Regions from separate parts of the Homo sapiens genome. Here all the other regions are linked to region 1. The links are contacts of gene promoters, found by promoter capture Hi-C in blood cells and fetal thymus (Javierre and others, 2016). All regions are on one chromosome and are shown on one strand. Each heading gives the region's core, a stretch centred on a gene start or on the middle of the fragment in contact. The rest is flanking DNA. Distances are from core to core; before and after follow the strand shown. Region 1 holds the start of ETS2 (ETS proto-oncogene 2, transcription factor). Region 2 overlaps GET1-SH3BGR (GET1-SH3BGR readthrough). Region 3 overlaps GET1-SH3BGR (GET1-SH3BGR readthrough). Region 4 overlaps GET1-SH3BGR (GET1-SH3BGR readthrough). Region 5 holds the start of LOC105372801 (a long non-coding RNA gene). Region 6 overlaps KCNJ15 (potassium inwardly rectifying channel subfamily J member 15).

Region 1 (2,644 bases), core at 44-2,543:
CGGAGACCTTCGGGGACCCAGAAACATTAAGGTGCACCGATATCTCAATTATCCGGATAACTCTAGACCTAGAGTCACCATGGAAACCTAGAACCCTGAGTCACAGAGAAGCTGGGCCATTCCTCTCCCTTCCCGGTGGTGCCGCAGTTCTTGAGATGTGAGCAGCTTTCAGCCCCGTGGCCTCGCCTAAGCTGGGGTTTCCTATTTCATCCACAACTTCAGGAATCTAAACTTTCCTGCAAAATATTGAGCATGTGACCTGAGTCCAAACAGCCATGGACTCAAGCACCTTCTGATAAAAACGGAAACCACAGTGTAGGGGGTGGTTTTGACCAGGGTTTCGGAGTCAGATAAACTCAGGTTTCCACCTTGAATTTCTCATCAATCTGACGTGGCAGGTTATTCATCCTAAGGTTCAGTTCCCACCTGTGTAAAGTGGGAGCCGCAAGTCCTCCGAGAGTGACGATGATGTGCGTGGAGTGCCCAGCCCAGATTGAAGCGCGGCCAAGGCGGGTCGCTATCTGGGCACCGCTCAGCTCCAGAGGGCGCCACTCCCGCGGAGCCTGCGGGATCGGGGCTTCCCGGGAGCAGCGCGATCAGCACCACGACTCGGGGACACAGCCAGGGCCCGGTTTCTACAGGAAGCGCCTCATTTGGAGCCTTTTTGTGATAGAATGATCATTAGTCCTAAGCCCATTCAGAGGTTCAAGAATGGGGTCGGCTCAATTTCAGGGCCTTATTACCCAAGCCCGGCTGCCCTTCGGTGCCACCAGCACCACTGCTCCGTCGCTGCGGAATTCCAAAGGCAGGTTTGGCGTTAGGGCCTTGGCCCCAGAGAGGACGCCGAGCGCTCCACGGAAAGTCTCCGCCCGGCTCCCAGGGCGCACACTCGCGCGCACGTGGGGCCGAGGCCCTGCTCCCGGGGCCTCAGGGCCAGCCGGCGAGGGACCCAGCCGAGTGACAGCAGGAGGCGGAGGGAAGGTTGGGCCGGAAGGTGTCAGCCCCGCCCCGCGCTCCCTCGCCGCCTCCGCCCTCCTCTTCTCTCCCCTCGTGCGTTCCCTCTCCTCTCCCTCCGCTCCCCCAACCCTCCTGCTGCCCCCTTCCCTCTCCTCCCGCTTCTCCCCATCCTGCCTACCTCCCTTCCCCTCCTCTTCTCTCTCCTCCCCTTCCCTCCCCTCTCTCTTCTCTCCTCCCTCGTTTCCTCCCCTCCCCTCCACTCGGCCGTCCCTCCTTCCTCCTCCCTCCTCCCTCCTCCTCCCGCTCCTGAAGAGCGCGCCGCGTGGGGGACGGCCCGGTTACTTCCTCCAGAGACTGACGAGTGCGGTGTCGCTCCAGCTCAGAGCTCCCGGAGCCGCCCGGCCAGCGTCCGGCCTCCCTGATCGTCTCTGGCCGGCGCCCTCGCCCTCGCCCGGCGCGCACCGAGCAGCCGCGGGCGCCGAGCAGCCACCGTCCCGACCAAGCGCCGGCCCTGCCCGCAGCGGCAGGGTAAGAGCTGGGCCCGCAGAGAGCGCCCGGCGCGCGGCTCCAGTCCCATGGAGGGTCACCCGGGGCCTGGGCGGGGGTCGCGGGGGGCACTGACACGCAGATCTCGGGGCGCTGCCGGGGGTGCAGGTGGGGGTGGCGGCTGCTGCGAGGACTCTAGGGGCGCGCGTCTGAGTTCCGCGCCGGCTCGTTTTCCGGTTATGGAGTGGCCTCCGGGGCTGGCGGGGTCGGCCGGGGGGTTCCTGCGTGCTAGGGCCGCTGTCTTCGGGGTCGCCTAGCGGCGGGCGCGGCCAGGGCGCGCTGGCTTGTTTCGCTCGCTTTTGTTTTTAAAAGGAAACGCAGGCCTGGTAGGGGGTCCTGCCCAGTGGATGTCCCGGCGAACATGATTTCGCGAACGGGAGTGGGGGCACAGGAGAGCGTGTCCGAGGTGGCCTGGCGCCCCGGCTTTGAGGGTGACTTCCTGGAGCGGCGCCGGGCCCGGAGGATCTGGGGCGCCCAAGACACCTGAAGGCTGCGGCACCGCGGGAACCTGCGGGGCGCGGGGTGCCATGGTCACCTGCTCGCCGCGTCCAGGGCCCGGGCTGGGGACCCCTCGGTCGTGCGAGGAGAGCGTGGGGAACCTGTCGGAAATGAGATCTGGTTGCGCTGGGCTGCCTTTATTTTCTCGTTCCTACAGCATTTGAATGAAGAGGTAACTGAGTGTTTGCTTGTGTGTGTTTGGGTTGCGTGTGTGTTATCCTATTTTATTTTTTACGGCAGGAGACCTTTTATGTTAGCCTGTACACAATTTCAGGGTAGCCTAAAACAGTAGTTGACGCGCTAGTTATTTAGAAAGTAAAGAAATGAGCAGTCCCCTTTGGAGACAGGAGTAATTTATTTTAATTCGCCAGTAAGAGATTATATTTGTTCCATACAATGGAAGCGCCTGTGCGTTATCTGCCTGCCCACACCACCACCAATCAGAGAGATAAATCTCCACGTTAAGCTTTATTAAAATTCTGAGTAGTAGCGCAGCACAGTAAATGTTAGCACCGACCATCCGCAGGGAAATGCTCAGATACTCATTTCTGGGATTAGTCATTCATCTCTCTAAACTGATCGCTTTCAAAGCGAAAAAAGCAAACTACCTTCAAATGTGTGTTACAAGGTTGTGTTGTTTCTT
Region 2 (2,644 bases), core at 59-2,558, 620 kb after region 1:
AACATGGACAAGAGCCCCAGCTGTTTCTATATAAGGAATACTTATGAGCTCAAGATTGCCTCAAATGGGAGGAAGGAATTACAGTCTGGGCAGGGAAGGAGGAAGAAAGGAGATCAAAGATAACACAAGCTAATTCCAATTTGGACAGCTGGGAGTTGATAGAGCTGGTACTTTAAAAATCTACAAAGAGCCGGGCGCGGTGGCTCACGCCTGTAATCCCAGCACTTTGGGAGGCCGAGGCAGGCGGATCACGAGGTCAGGAGATCGAGACCATCCTGGCTAACACGGTGAAACCCTGTCTCTACTAAAAATACAAAAAATTAGCCGGGCGTGGTGGTGGGTGCCTGTAGTCCCAGCTACTCAGGAGGCTGAGGCAGGAGAATGGCGTGAACCCGGGAGGCAGAGCTTGCAGTGAGCCGAGATGGCGCCACTGCACTCCAGCCTGGGTAACCAGAGCAAGACTCTGTCTCAAAAAAAAAAAAAAAAAATCTACAAAGAAATGACATTATTAACAGCCTTTTGAACCATCTCTGTTTCAAAAGATGGTGTTTGCCAATATGTCTCACCAGACTTGGAGACCATCCTCTTGGGGTGCTGAGATAGGTATTTACATTTCACTGGCAATTCAAACACTGATTCTTCAGCTGAGATGAAAGGCAAGAAGCCAGTGAAATCCAAATATTGTGGTACTCTGTAACAAGGCCACCTGTTAACTAAAAACAGAACTAACCTCACTAGTAGGCTCCAGTAGGGTAAGCCATGCAGGGGGCTAGGCTTTACATGTGAAGCCTTTCTGTTATTTTATAATTACTCTTAATTTCTCTATTTCCTAATTTATTCTATAAAAGTTCACCTATAATACACATTTACAATATGGGAAAACAATAAAACTGAGTATGAACCACTTCAAACACTAGTGCAGTAAAATAACATCATTATGACAGAAATTTGGTCTTGCTTGGGAAATTTTACTCCTTACCTTTAGATTGGGAGATTTTAGAAACATTATACTTTTTCTTCTCCTTTTCTTTTACCACAGGCTGCTTTAAATAATTTCTATTAATAGCCTTTTCTGAACAATCACAGAGAAAGTCTTCTGAATAATCATACTGAGAACTTAAACTTCCACAGGAGCACTGAGATCTGCTATAATCAACACTCTTATTGGAAGCATTACTGTTCCGTGAAAAATCGCCTGTGCCTGGGCTTCTCTTGCATGCTGCAGACCTCCTATTGTTTTCTAATGCCACGCCGAAGAAATGCTCATCTATATTTGTTTTTGTTAGATCAGCCAAAGACATAGCAAACAACCTAATAAAAGAAAAGTAAAACCTAATAAAAGTATTTTTGAATTTATTGACATTAAAATGAACCTATGCTTTATTTTATATATATATATATATATATTTTTTTTTTTTTTTTTTTTTTTTTTTTTTTAAAGACAGGGTGTCACTCTGTTGCCTAGGTTGGAGTGCAGTGGTGTGGCCATGGCTTTCTGCAGCCTTGACCTCCTGGGCTCAAGCGATCCTCTCAGCTCAGCCTCTGGAGTAGCTGGGACTACGAGTGTGTGCCGTCACACCTGGCTAACTTATTATTTTTTGGTAGAAATGGGAGTCTCACTATGTTGCCCAGGCTGGTCTTGAACTCCTGGGCTCAAGTGATCCTCCCACCTTGGTCTCACAAAGTGGTGGGATTACAGGCGTGAGCCACCATGCTCAGCCATGGACATAAACTTTGAATACTTTCAATAAGCCCTCTTAGTTGTCTAAAGTGATAATTTAAAATGGAAGGAATAGAAAGTGAAATACAAGAAAGACCCCAAATTTATACCCTTAATAAAATTAACATTAGTTACAAAGCAGATGGTTCTGCATTTCTTTATTATGCTACTGCACTAAGGACAATACCACCACAAGTATCTCTTTTATAGCAGCTTACCTCAAAAGCAGATTGAAACAAACAGATCCATCTTCTGAGGTCTTTAAAAGGATTTACCTTTTCATTTAATTCTCAATTCTCCTGTTTTATCAAGAAAGCAAAAGAGAATTTAACTGGCATTAGATCCTTTGCAATAGGAATCTAATATCACTTTCTCTACTGAGAGGGTTTTTTTTGAAGTCAGTTTCTGCTTTTTGCTGCATCTGCTTAATTCTCCAGCCTTCTCTTCTGATGAAATATATTAGGCAGTCCACAATCTCCTCACTACAAGAAATCAAATGATCTTAGTAATAATTAATATTAGCATTACACTTAATATCTAACTAGTGCTCTTACTTTGTACAAACTTATTTCACATCACCTCATCTCAGCCACCTAGAGGGAATAGGTTCAGACAGGTTTAAAGTTCAGAGACTGTCCCTGTTTCTTAGCTCCAGGGGCAGTGCTTTTTTCATTAAGCACCATGACTGCAACACCACATTGGTGGGAGCATTACACAATCCTAAGGCAAAGAATTTCTCTTTCCAGACACATTCTGCTGTGTAGCGGTGGGCAGAAGCAGATCCTTATTTGTGAACCTTTGCATCTAGATTAAGAAGAATCCAGGCTGGGCATTGTGGCTCACATCTGAAATACCAGCACTTTGGGAGGCTGAGGTGGGTGGATAGCTTGAGCTCAGAAGTTTAGGACCAGCCTGGGCAACATG
Region 3 (2,644 bases), core at 102-2,601, 610 kb after region 1:
CTGCCTCCTGGGTCCAAGCGATTTTCCTGCCTCAGCCTCCTGAGTAGCTGGGATTACAGGCACATACCGCCATGTGCGGTTAAGTTTTGTATTTTTTAGTAGAGATAGGGTTTCACCATGTTGGCCAGGCTGGTCTCAAACTCTTGACCTCAGGTGATCTGCCTGCCTTGGCCTCCCAAAGTGCTGGGATTACAGGTGCGAGCTGCCATGCCCAGCTGTTTTATGTGTGCTTTATATACACATATAGTAATTCACAATTTTAAAGAAATCAGATAAGATAGACTTTAAAGAGTTAAAATTACCTTCATATTTTCTCTTAGAATCCTCTTGCTTTGGTAGTTTATTCACACAGTGAGGAATTTCATGATTTATTTCAGTTGATTTTTCTTTATGATCGATGTTTCCTGTTGCCTTTTTACCCTGTAATTTAGAAAAGCAGCAAAAACACATTTTGGGGGGTCTAGATAACTTAAAATTGCATTTTATTCTAATGACTACAAATACTTTTCACATAGAACAAGTGACTGTAGCCTATTTTTGTTAAGACATGTTTAATCAGACACTGCAAGATTCCAAATTTGCTGTACCTTAGTTGTCAAAGGTGGAACATCTGATTTTTGGGTTCCCTGGTGTCTCATACTTGTGAATGGCAAAATTTTTCTGTCTGCTTGGACTGATTTTGTTGAAGAAACTATGGAACAGGTAGATTATATGTAAGAAACATATTTTACATTTGGATACAATATTGATTTTAAACATAAAATAACTTTTATGCAATGTAATAATAAAGTATACTAAGTATTTTCTAAATATTCAATATATATATAAGCATTTGTTAGTTTCCTGTTTTTCCCTCCAGGGCCCTTGCTTTGTCTTACTTTGGGCCTCACAGTGTTTGAGTATAAAACAAGTAGGTGTTAGGATAAGACATTGTTGCTGTTGGAGGACAAGGCTGTCCTTTGTGGATGGGATTCAGCAAGGTAGACGTGTAATTGTGAGAGGCCAGGCCACCGAGCTATCCTGTGGCGGAGCTCTTGATTATCAGTGGTTAGACTGTCCATGCTGAAGCGCATGACCACTAAATCTAGACTGCACTTTCCTGAAAAGTGAAGGAAATTATATCATTTAAACAACCCCTCGGTTGATTCATTGTCTCTATTATTCTAGATTATAAGCCAGAAGCAAACAAAGGCAGGCAAGGAAATTTGAGGTTGTTGCATCTGGAAGTAAACATGTAGCTACTTCTTCTAATAAAACAGAGGTGAGTATTCCTATGGTACTTCTGAGTCGAATCTGTTGCTGGGAGATTTTGGGGGGAAAGCAGTGCACGTGCTCTTGAAGAAAAGAAGACCTCACCAATGAGAGGTATACACTAATGATAGTGGCATCAATATAGATGAATCTCAAAAACACTATGCTGAACAAAAGCAGCCAGATACAAAAGGGTGCAGCTGTGGGATTCCACTTACATGAAATTCTAGAACAGACAACCTAGGCTATTGTGACCAAAGGAAAGTCAGTGGTTGCCTCGGGTGAGGTAGGGGACTACTGACTGCAGGGGACACGAGGAAACTTCCTGGGGAGGTGGAAATATTCAATATCTTGATTGGGGTGGTGGCTCCATCGGTATAAACATCTGTCAAAACCCACTGAGCTGCGTGCACACTTAAAATGGATGCATTTTATTGAGGTCAAGTATACCCCAATAAAGTTCATTTTGAAAAGCCATACACTGGCTAACAGATACACTTAGAAAGTTCACTTTTTGGCAGACATTTTGCTTCAAGCTGAAGTTATCCTTTTGCTCCACCTGAAGAAAGGACATAAAGGGGTGTGCTGAGGATGGGAGAACGGGAAAGCATTTCTATTCCTTGCTAGCCATGTCACCATCTCAGTCTCGTTATTCTTCTAGAATCACAAAATGTATTTTAATGCCTAATGAAGTGATTTTTGAAAATATCCATTATTTTGTCTATATAAATTAGGAAAATCTGACTAGATACTTAAAAATAGATTTTGAGCAAAAGTAATTAAAACATACCTTTTGGATAGTCCTCTGTGTCATGTAAATTTTTAAGTATTCGATGACTATAGATGTTTTTAATTTCAAGCTCACGATCCTTTTCCTAAAAAGAACCACAAAACCAATTTTTCTATAAATGCTTGCTTTTGTCAACCCTGATTTCTTTTAAAAACAATTTAAATGAGCTCAGTATCCTATGAATAAAATCTGTAGATTTTAGAAGAAACAGAAATAGGCCATATCATCCTATACCATTCCTGACATCGAAAAGTACTAGCTCTTTAAACAAAGTGACACATTATTGTGATCGGGACAGTATTTTTGAAGAGCCTTGCAGGTCAGCTTGTCCACTGTTTTCCTTCTGTCCTGTGGGCCTTGAAGTTTATGAAATATTCTTCTGTACTGTGCATTACAGTAGCCACTAACTATATGTTGTGATTTCATTTAAATGAAAGTAAAACTAAAATTTAGGTCGTCAGCCACACTATTTGTATTTCCAATAGGCGGTCAGCAGCTGTGTGTGACTAGTGACTACAGTATTGGATGGCACAGGTGAACATTTCCACCATCTAATAGAAAGTTCTATGAGACAGGGCTACGTCTAGACAAGGGCCGGGGGGG
Region 4 (2,644 bases), core at 105-2,604, 580 kb after region 1:
CTATCCAGTCTTTAAGATGATGTCTCAGGCATTGCATAAAAGACTCCTGATGAGCTGGCCCATGCTCATCTTCTTGTTTTTAATTGTAAAATACACATAATATGAAGTTTATCATCTTTATCATTTTTAGGTGTACAGTTCAGTGGCATTAAGTACATTCACATTTTTGTGCAACCATTATCCCAGAACTTTATTATTATTATTTTAAGACAGGGTCTGGCTCTGTGCAGTGGTGTAATCTCGACTCATTGCAACCTCTGCCTCCCAGGTTCAAGTGATCCTCCCACCTCAGCCTCCCAAGTAGCTGGGACCACAGGCATGCACCACCACGCCCAGGTATTTTTTTGTATTTTTAGTAGAGACAGAGCTTTGCCATGTTGGCCAGGCTGGTCTCAAACTCCTGACCTCAAGCCATCCACCCATCCTGGCCTCCCAAAGTGCTGGGATTACAGGTGTGAACCACTGCACGTGGCCCCGCTCCCAGAACATTTTCTTTTTTTTTTTTTTTGAGACAGAGTCTCACTCTGTTGCCTATGTAGGAGTGCAGTGGCCTGATCTTGGCTCACTGCAGCCTCCACCTTCCAGGTTCAAGCGATTCTCCTGCCTCAGCCTCCCAGGTAGCTGTGATTACCAGTACCTGCCACCATGCCCGGCTAATTTTTGTATTTTTAATAGAGACGGGGTCTCACTATGTTGCCCAGGTTGGTCTCAAACTCCTGACCTCAAGTGATCTGTGCTCCTTGGCCTCCCAAAGTGCTAGGATTACAGGCGTGTGCCACCACGCCTGGCCCCATCCCAGAACTTTTTTTATCTCCTCTAACCGAAACTCTCGCACTCATTAAACAACAACTTTCCATTCCTACCTCTCCCTGGCAATCACCATTGTACTTTCTGCCTCTGTGAATTTGACTACTCTTGGGACCTCATATAAGTGGAATCAGACAGTATTTTTCCTTTTGTGACTGGCTTCTTTTCACTCAGCATAATATCCTTAAGGTTCATCCATGGTGTATCATGAGTCAGGATTTCCTCCCCTTTTAAGGCTGAATAGTATCCCATTGTATGTATAGGCCACATTTTGTTTATTAGTTCATCTGTCTATGGACACTTGGGTTGTTTCTACCTTTTGACTATTGTAGATAATGCTAAAATGTTTACAAATATCTCTTTGAGTCTCTGCTTTCAGTTTTTCTGGACATATACCCAGCAGTGGAATTCCTGAATCTATGGTAATTCTATGTTGAATTTTTTTGAAAAACCACCATACTGTTTTCCATAGCAGCCACACCATTCGACATTCTCACCAGCAGTGCAGAAGGGTTCCAGTTGCTCCATATCCTTCAACATGTATTTTGTTTTCTTATTTATTTATTCTTTTTATTTTTTTATTTATTTTTATTTTTTGAGATGGAGTCTTGCTCCGTTGCCCAGGCTGGAGTGCAGTAGCGCAGTCTCGGCTCACTGCAAGCTCCGCCTCCCGGGTTCACACCATTCTCCTGCCTCAGCCTCCCGAGTAGCTGGGACTACAGGTGCCCACCACCACCACAACCGGCTAATTTTTTTGTATTTTTAGTAGAGACGAGGTTTCACCGAATTAGCCAGGATGGTCTCGATCTCCTGACCTTGTGATCTGCCCGCCTTGGCCTCCCAAAGTGCTGGGATTACAGGCTTGTGCCACCGCGCCCAGCCTATTTTTTTTTTTATTATTTATTTTATTTTGTTTATTTATTTTTTGAGACAGAGTCTTGCTCTTGTTGCCCAGGCTGGAGTGCAATGGCGCAATCTCAGCTCACTGCAACCTCTGCCCCCCGAGTTCAAGAGATTCTCCTGCCTCAGCTTCCCAAGTAGCTGGGATTACAGGTGCCCGCCACTATGCCCGGCTAATTTTTGTATTTTTAGTAGAGACGAGGTTTCACCATGTTGGCCAGGCTGGTCTCGAACTCCTGATCTCCGGTGATCTGCCCACCTTGGCCTCCCAAAGTGCTGGGATTACAGGTGTGAGCCACTGCACCCAGCTAATTTTTATTTTTTTGAGAGGGAGTCTCTCTCTGTCACCCAGGCTGGAGTGCAGTGGCTCAATCTTGGCTCACTGCAACCTCCGCCTCCCAGGTTCAAGCAATTCTTCTGTCTCAGCCTTCCAGGTAGCTGGGATTACAGGTTTGAGCCACTGCGCCCAGCTAATTTTTATTTTTTTGAGAGGGAGTCTCTCTCTGTCACCCAGGCTGGAGTGCAGTGGCTCAATCTTGGCTCACTGCAACCTCCGCCTCCCAGGTTCAAGCAATTCTTCTGTCTCAGCCTTCCAGGTAGCTGGGATTACAGGTGCATGCCACCATGCTGGGCTAATTTTTGTATTTTTAGTAGAGACGGGGTTTTGCCATGTTGGCGAGGCTGGTCTCGAACTCCTGACCTCAGGTGATCCACCTGCCTGGGCCTCCCAAAGTACTGGGATTACAGGCGTGAGCCACCACCCCCGGCCTTTTTTTTTTTTTGTAATACTAACCATTCTAATGGACGTAAGGTGGTGTCTCATTTTAGTTTTGATTTGCATTTCCCTAATAGTGATGTTGAGTATCTTTTCAGATGCTTATGGCCATCTGTTTATCTTTGGAGACATGTCTAGTCAAATCTTTTGCCCCCTTTTAAA
Region 5 (2,644 bases), core at 71-2,570, 550 kb before region 1:
GTCAGATCTGCAGCCTCAAAATCTAATTGTTGACATATCACCAAATGAAAAGTAACAAAAACAGGTAAACATCACCAAAATGAAGAACATTGTCTTAGCATTTAAACTTTAAAATGTATTTCTACTACTCTGGACTCATTTTTTCCTTCCATCATCTTTAAAATTGTTATAAATGAGTATCTGCTCCACTGTGTATGGTCCTGCAAGAACTAAAACTTCCCAGAGTATTAAACTGTGGTTAAAATTCATGCAGTATGTAACTCGATGCTGAGAAGAAGCTACATATGCATATGTATGCTCAAAATATAAGAATTTAAGAAAAATGTACGATAATGAAAAATGCATGGATTGAAAGTGAAAAGAGCTGTTTTGAGCTTCAATTCATCGCTCTGTAGCTGTGTGACTTTGCACAAATCACTTATCTTCTTTGGCTTCCATCTCCTTGCCCTTAAAATACAACTAATCATGCCTACATTTTGATCTGAGCATGGACTTAACAACATTTCTGGCAGTGTTTTACAAATTGAAAAAAAGGTGTTCAAATGTTAGTTTATTAAGTAAAGCTTAGGCTGGAAATACAGATTAAATATAAGGAGATAATTAAAGTTCCACGGTAACAAATCATGTCTTCCATATGTAATCTTTTGTCAACCCACTTGACAAATATGCATATTTTTTGAGGGACTATGATGTGCCAGATATTGCTGGAAAGATGTTTGGTGAATAAGACAGGTACCATTGAGCTCTAGACTGGAACACAGATGGTAAATGGAAAAGCTTGAGGGCAACTTCAGACAGTGATAAGTGAGATACACAACAAAAGGAGTCTTGGGGCACGGACTTGGATCAGGACCAGATCAGATAAGGACCTCCCAGAGGAGGTGCCATTCAGGCTAGGACCTGAACAATGAGTCAGCTCAGTGAATGAAGGCCAGAGGGGACCATTCCAGGCCGAGGAAACAGCCCCTGCAAATCATCCCACCTGAGCAGCTGGTATATACTCAGATCCTTTAATTCTCAGTTTTCCCTCTTTCATCGTTCTGCACCTCTGTGCTTACCTGTTTTCTATGGGACTTTTAGCATATCCTCGCGGGAGGTCTATCTGATTCTAGACTCCGGGAGTACCAGCTCTAAGAAGTCCAAATCTCGTGTAGCTTCTTCATCCTCCTGCCCTGAACCCCTGGGAGCCCAGTGTCTTCTTTCCAGGGCCACCATTTATACTCCCAGGCTGAAAAGGAGTCCCTTGCTTCCAGGGAAAGAAAGAGCAAAAGAGAAGGAGACTGAGGCATACCATCTCCACTGGGAAAACAGAAATGGAATGATTTATGCCCTGAGCTTTGAGTCAGCAGGGAGAGGGGGGAGAAAATAAGGAAGTCTCAGCCCTTCCTTCCTAAAGACAGAATGACACCCCATCCCTTCCAGCTCCCACTTAGTTCAAGCACCCAGAACAGCAGCAGCTGCACTTGGGGTGAATTGCAGAGCCCAGTACTCTGGGGAGAGGAAGTATCATTCATTTCCAACAGAAGCAAAGTGTTCCTCACCCTGTCTGCTCTATGTCAAACCAGATGCCGTGGTCTGGCCCCACCGACATGCCTGGGCAGGGGACGTGTGGGTATATCATCGTCTCCCATGGGAAACAGACCGTTTGCGTCTCTTGGCATTGCCTTTGGACCAGTGTAGAGGGCTCTCTCTAGGGGAAGTGCTTTTGAAAAACCCATTCCATCTCTTAGGATTGACCACGATCCCCATGCAGTCTGGCCGTGAGAAGGCCAGGAGAGCACATGAGCCTTGGACGGGCCTCCCTTGATGTGGTGGCTGCAAGAGTCACTTTGCATAGGATGGACATATAACCCCATTCCCGAAAGAAGCTTACTGCCTCTGCTTCCAGAGATCTTCCATTAGAAGCCTTCTTCAAGGATGGAATTCTGACCATTTCTCATAAAGATGCCAGACTATGCAAGAATGCTGGAACTCAGATTCCAACATGTATCCCGAAGCCCAATTTCCATGATCCAGAAGAACCAAATTTTGCCCATGTCTATTCAGCTTATATATATATATATATATAATATTTATCAGGGAAAGCAGGGCAATAGAAAAAAATCAGCTCAATAAAGGGGTTGAGCTAAAAACATGAGTTTTCCTCTGTGGCATTTTGCTTAGGTATGTTTGACATAGGTATAGTCTGTATGGATTCATTCTGATTCCACCAGGAGGCAAGAGATTTTGTTAATATTCATTTGGGGAGGAGAGAGGAAAGAGAAAAAGAAAACATGGGATAAAGGAGAGATTGTTAGAAAAGGTAATCTGGTTATTTATTTATAGTTTACTTAGCCAAAGGGACCTTAAAATGCTTTGATAAGAATGGCCAAAGTTTCTTCAAAGATTAACTGGCATTCTTTAAAAAGGCATCAGTTTTCTTTTGCACAGGTGTTTGGAGAGCCCGGACTGGATGCCCACTAGAATCCTGTGCTGGTTTGTAGATTTCCTTAAGACCTTAAGACATGCTGACATCATGGTCTCCTTTCTCAGATTCCTTCTCTCTTTTTCTCTTTCTCCCCCACTCTCTCTCTCTGTCTCTCACTTTCTCTCCTTTCCTCCCTCCCTCCCTCCCTCCCTCCTTCCCTATCCCTCCCTCCTCTGC
Region 6 (2,644 bases), core at 86-2,585, 520 kb before region 1:
TTATCTCCATGTGTGCTCAGTGTTTAGCTCCTTCTATTATAAGTGAGAACATATGGTATTTGGTTTTCTGTTCCTGCATTAATTTGCTTAGGATAATGGTCTCCAGCTCCATCCATGTTGCTGCAAAGAACATGATTTAATTCTTTTTTATGGCTGCATAGTATTCTGCGGTATATTTGTACAAAATTTTCTTTATCCATTCTACATTTATGGGCACCTGGCTTGATGCCATGTATTTGCTCTAGTGAATAGTGCAGAGGTGAACATACAAATGCATGTGTCTTTTGGTAGAATGATATAGTTTCCTTTGGGAATACACCCAGTAATGGGATTGCTGGGTCAAATGACAGCTCTGTTTTAAGTTCTTTTAGAAATCTCCAGACTGCTTTCCACAGTGGCTGGACTAATTTACATTTCCATCAATAGTGTAGAAACTTTCCCTTTCTTTGCAGCCTTGGCCAGCAACTATTTTTTGACTTTTTAGTAATAGCCATTCTGACTGGTGTGAGATGATAACTCTTCGTGGTTTTGATATGCATTTCTCTAGTGATTAGTGATGCTGAGCATTTTTTCAAGTTTGTTGACTGTTTGTATATCTTCTTTTGAGAAGTGTCGGTTCATTTCCTTTGCCCATTTTTTTTAAATGGAGCAATATGTTTTTTGCTTGTTGATTTATTCAAGTTCACCATGGATTCATTTTAAAATATGTATAAGATATAAACACTTAAAAGGATAAAGTGGAAGCTACAATTGAATACTTCTATCATTTTGTCACTGTCCCTGCTTGGGTTACTGGTGTACCCCACATTGGAGACATCTGGTGTAAAGAAGCAAACAGAGCCGAAAGGAATCTTAGAACTCTTTGTCTATGATGGTCAGTGTACTGGGGAACATGAAATACACAGAGGAAGTAATTTGTTGGATGAAATTGAATATACTTATGTTTGCCCATAGTTTTTATCGGTTTTGTCATTTTGAGAGATGTACAACTAATTTTCTCTTCAAGATAGAACATTGTGGCATATTCTTTGTGCTACGAATCAGAATAGGAAGACGAAATCTTTATTTCTAATTGAATTGTTCAAATCAGTGAAATATTCTTCACCCGAACAATGTGCCTAGCTGTGGACTGGATTCCTCTCTGGGATTCCTCTCTGACCTAGAACGTTGGGCATCATAACCTTAGGCAAGTGACATTCTTACTAAATCGGACGCTGAGTCCCCTTGAATGGCATCTCTGCCCACCGTGTGCCTCCCTTAAACATTAAGTTCCTACCACATGCCAGGCCTTGTGTTTGCCACTCAGGATGAACTACTGTGCCCAGTCTATGGGGAAAGCTAAACTCCAAGACTGATCATTACAGCAGCACAGTAAGTATTATCATGAGGTGTGGACAATGAGAAGGCAGAAGAGAGGAACAAGGTGAACGCTACCTGCATGCTGGAGGAGATGACATTTGAGCGGGGCCTCGAGGGATGCGTAGGAGTTTACCAGGCATAGAGCAAAGAAGAAATATGGAATAAAGGGGTCAGCCTAAGCAAAGGTATAGGGCAGGATATCTGCTTTATCAGCAGTATCTCTGGGTGAAGTGCAAACTCTTCTAATTCAGTCAATGAAATGAAGCCTTAAGATGACTGAAAACTAGGTTCTTGGATTTGTGCAATAGATATTTGGAAATATCTCTGAGAGTAAATGATTTCATAATGTTTGGCCACAACACTGTGTGGAAAGTTTCTTTGTGTAATATAATACAGAAAGTACTTCTCATTTACAGTAAAATCTGGAATACTTGGAAATGGTCTGTGCTAGGGAAACTGAATTTTCAGATTAACTGCATAAAAATGGAAAATCTGGTTGAAAAACCTTCCTAATTTTGTTTTCCTTTAGAGAGATAACTGCTGTTAATATTTTAGAGGTGTTTTATTTTGATCTTACCTAGAGAGAGAAACAGAGAGATTACCCTGCATATTTAGCTGTATCAATTGCCTTTTAAAAAACATATTTAGCATTTTTTCATGATTTTTAAACACTGCATAATATTTCAGCCTATGAGTGTTTTATAAATTTAAAACCATTCCTATATTGTTGGTGACTCAGATTGCTTCTAATGTTTTAATATCATAATAAATATAGAGAACACTCTTGTACATTATCCTATCATACATTTCCTATTAAGTCTTAAAAGTAGACTTACTGACTCAAGCAGTCTAACATAAATAGTTTAAAACTTTGAGTATACATTGTCAAATTACTGCCTCCCTCAAAAAAGTTATGCTAGATTACTCTATCGGACACCATGCAGGAAGCTCTTCATTTCTGCAAACTCGTCAATGTAGAATGTTCACATGTCTTTTAAAATTTTCGGTAATTTGATAAGTGAAAAGTGAATTCCTGGTGCCTTTGTGTTTCTTGGACTGATGGTCCCTCCTCAGTCTCCTTTGCCTGTATCTCTGACTCTGCCTGGTCTTAAGGCTACTCAGGCTCAGTCTGGGTTGCTGCTTCCACACTACTGTCTAAGGGGGAAGCTCCTGCACTTTCATGGCTCAAATTCCACTCGTTGGCTTATGTGCTAAAGGCATCCCTCCTGTCCAGGTGTCTCTGTTGAAGGCCAGGCCCATCTGCACAGACCCTAGTGCTTACTTC

What was found. Contacts are between HindIII fragments. The CHiCAGO score rates a contact against its expected background, and 5 or more counts as called.
Region 2: a fragment that was not itself captured here is called in contact with the fragment with the promoter of ETS2 in region 1 in 1 of 17 cell types (non-activated CD4 T cells); the score reaches 5.6 in non-activated CD4 T cells.
Region 3: a fragment that was not itself captured here is called in contact with the fragment with the promoter of ETS2 in region 1 in 1 of 17 cell types (non-activated CD4 T cells); the score reaches 5.4 in non-activated CD4 T cells.
Region 4: a contact is called between a fragment that was not itself captured here and the fragment with the promoter of ETS2 in region 1, in 4 of 17 cell types (activated CD4 T cells, total CD8 T cells, non-activated CD4 T cells and 1 more). The highest score is 7.8, in activated CD4 T cells.
Region 5: a contact is called between a fragment that was not itself captured here and the fragment with the promoter of ETS2 in region 1, in 1 of 17 cell types (monocytes). The highest score is 7.3, in monocytes.
Region 6: a fragment that was not itself captured here is called in contact with the fragment with the promoter of ETS2 in region 1 in 1 of 17 cell types (monocytes); the score reaches 5.7 in monocytes.

The regions. Positions count from the first base shown.
Region 1 is chr21:38,804,636-38,807,279 of GRCh38, forward strand. ETS2 (ETS proto-oncogene 2, transcription factor) reads left to right here and starts at 1,294. Exons shown (of 10, transcript NM_005239.6): 1 at 1,294-1,485. RefSeq lists enhancers at 93-593, 127-266, 447-506, 517-676 and silencers at 787-1,116, 1,137-1,206, 1,397-1,686, 1,797-1,896, 1,917-2,016. The HindIII fragment of the contact is 4,522 bases long and covers 1-2,465 here.
Region 2 is chr21:39,427,193-39,429,836 of GRCh38, forward strand. All of the region lies in intron 8 of GET1-SH3BGR (GET1-SH3BGR readthrough), which reads left to right. LCA5L (lebercilin LCA5 like) reads right to left here. Exons shown (of 11, transcript NM_152505.4): 4 at 1,939-2,019; 5 at 980-1,311. The coding sequence starts at 1,301. It also overlaps a transcript of GET1 not described here. Among named protein-coding and RNA genes, the nearest start is that of LCA5L, 17 kb to the right of the region's middle. The HindIII fragment of the contact is 4,177 bases long and covers 1-2,644 here.
Region 3 is chr21:39,409,677-39,412,320 of GRCh38, forward strand. GET1-SH3BGR (GET1-SH3BGR readthrough) reads left to right here. Exons shown (of 14, transcript NR_146618.2): 7 at 1,168-1,261. It overlaps LCA5L (lebercilin LCA5 like), which reads right to left. Exons shown (of 11, transcript NM_152505.4): 8 at 2,042-2,126; 9 at 588-691; 10 at 303-420. It also overlaps a transcript of GET1 not described here. Among named protein-coding and RNA genes, the nearest start is that of GET1-SH3BGR, 31 kb to the left of the region's middle. The HindIII fragment of the contact is 4,695 bases long and covers 1-2,644 here.
Region 4 is chr21:39,381,565-39,384,208 of GRCh38, forward strand. All of the region lies in intron 1 of GET1-SH3BGR (GET1-SH3BGR readthrough), which reads left to right. All of the region lies in intron 1 of GET1 (guided entry of tail-anchored proteins factor 1), which reads left to right. Among named protein-coding and RNA genes, the nearest start is that of GET1-SH3BGR, 2.6 kb to the left of the region's middle. The HindIII fragment of the contact is 4,610 bases long and covers 1-2,644 here.
Region 5 is chr21:38,254,313-38,256,956 of GRCh38, forward strand. It overlaps LOC105372801 (a long non-coding RNA gene), which reads right to left and starts at 1,342. Exons shown (of 3, transcript XR_937708.3): 1 at 1,059-1,342; 2 at 1-22. It also overlaps a transcript of KCNJ15 not described here. The HindIII fragment of the contact is 1,091 bases long and covers 776-1,866 here.
Region 6 is chr21:38,281,465-38,284,108 of GRCh38, forward strand. All of the region lies in intron 1 of KCNJ15 (potassium inwardly rectifying channel subfamily J member 15), which reads left to right. Among named protein-coding and RNA genes, the nearest start is that of KCNJ15, 26 kb to the left of the region's middle. The HindIII fragment of the contact is 6,132 bases long and covers 1-2,644 here.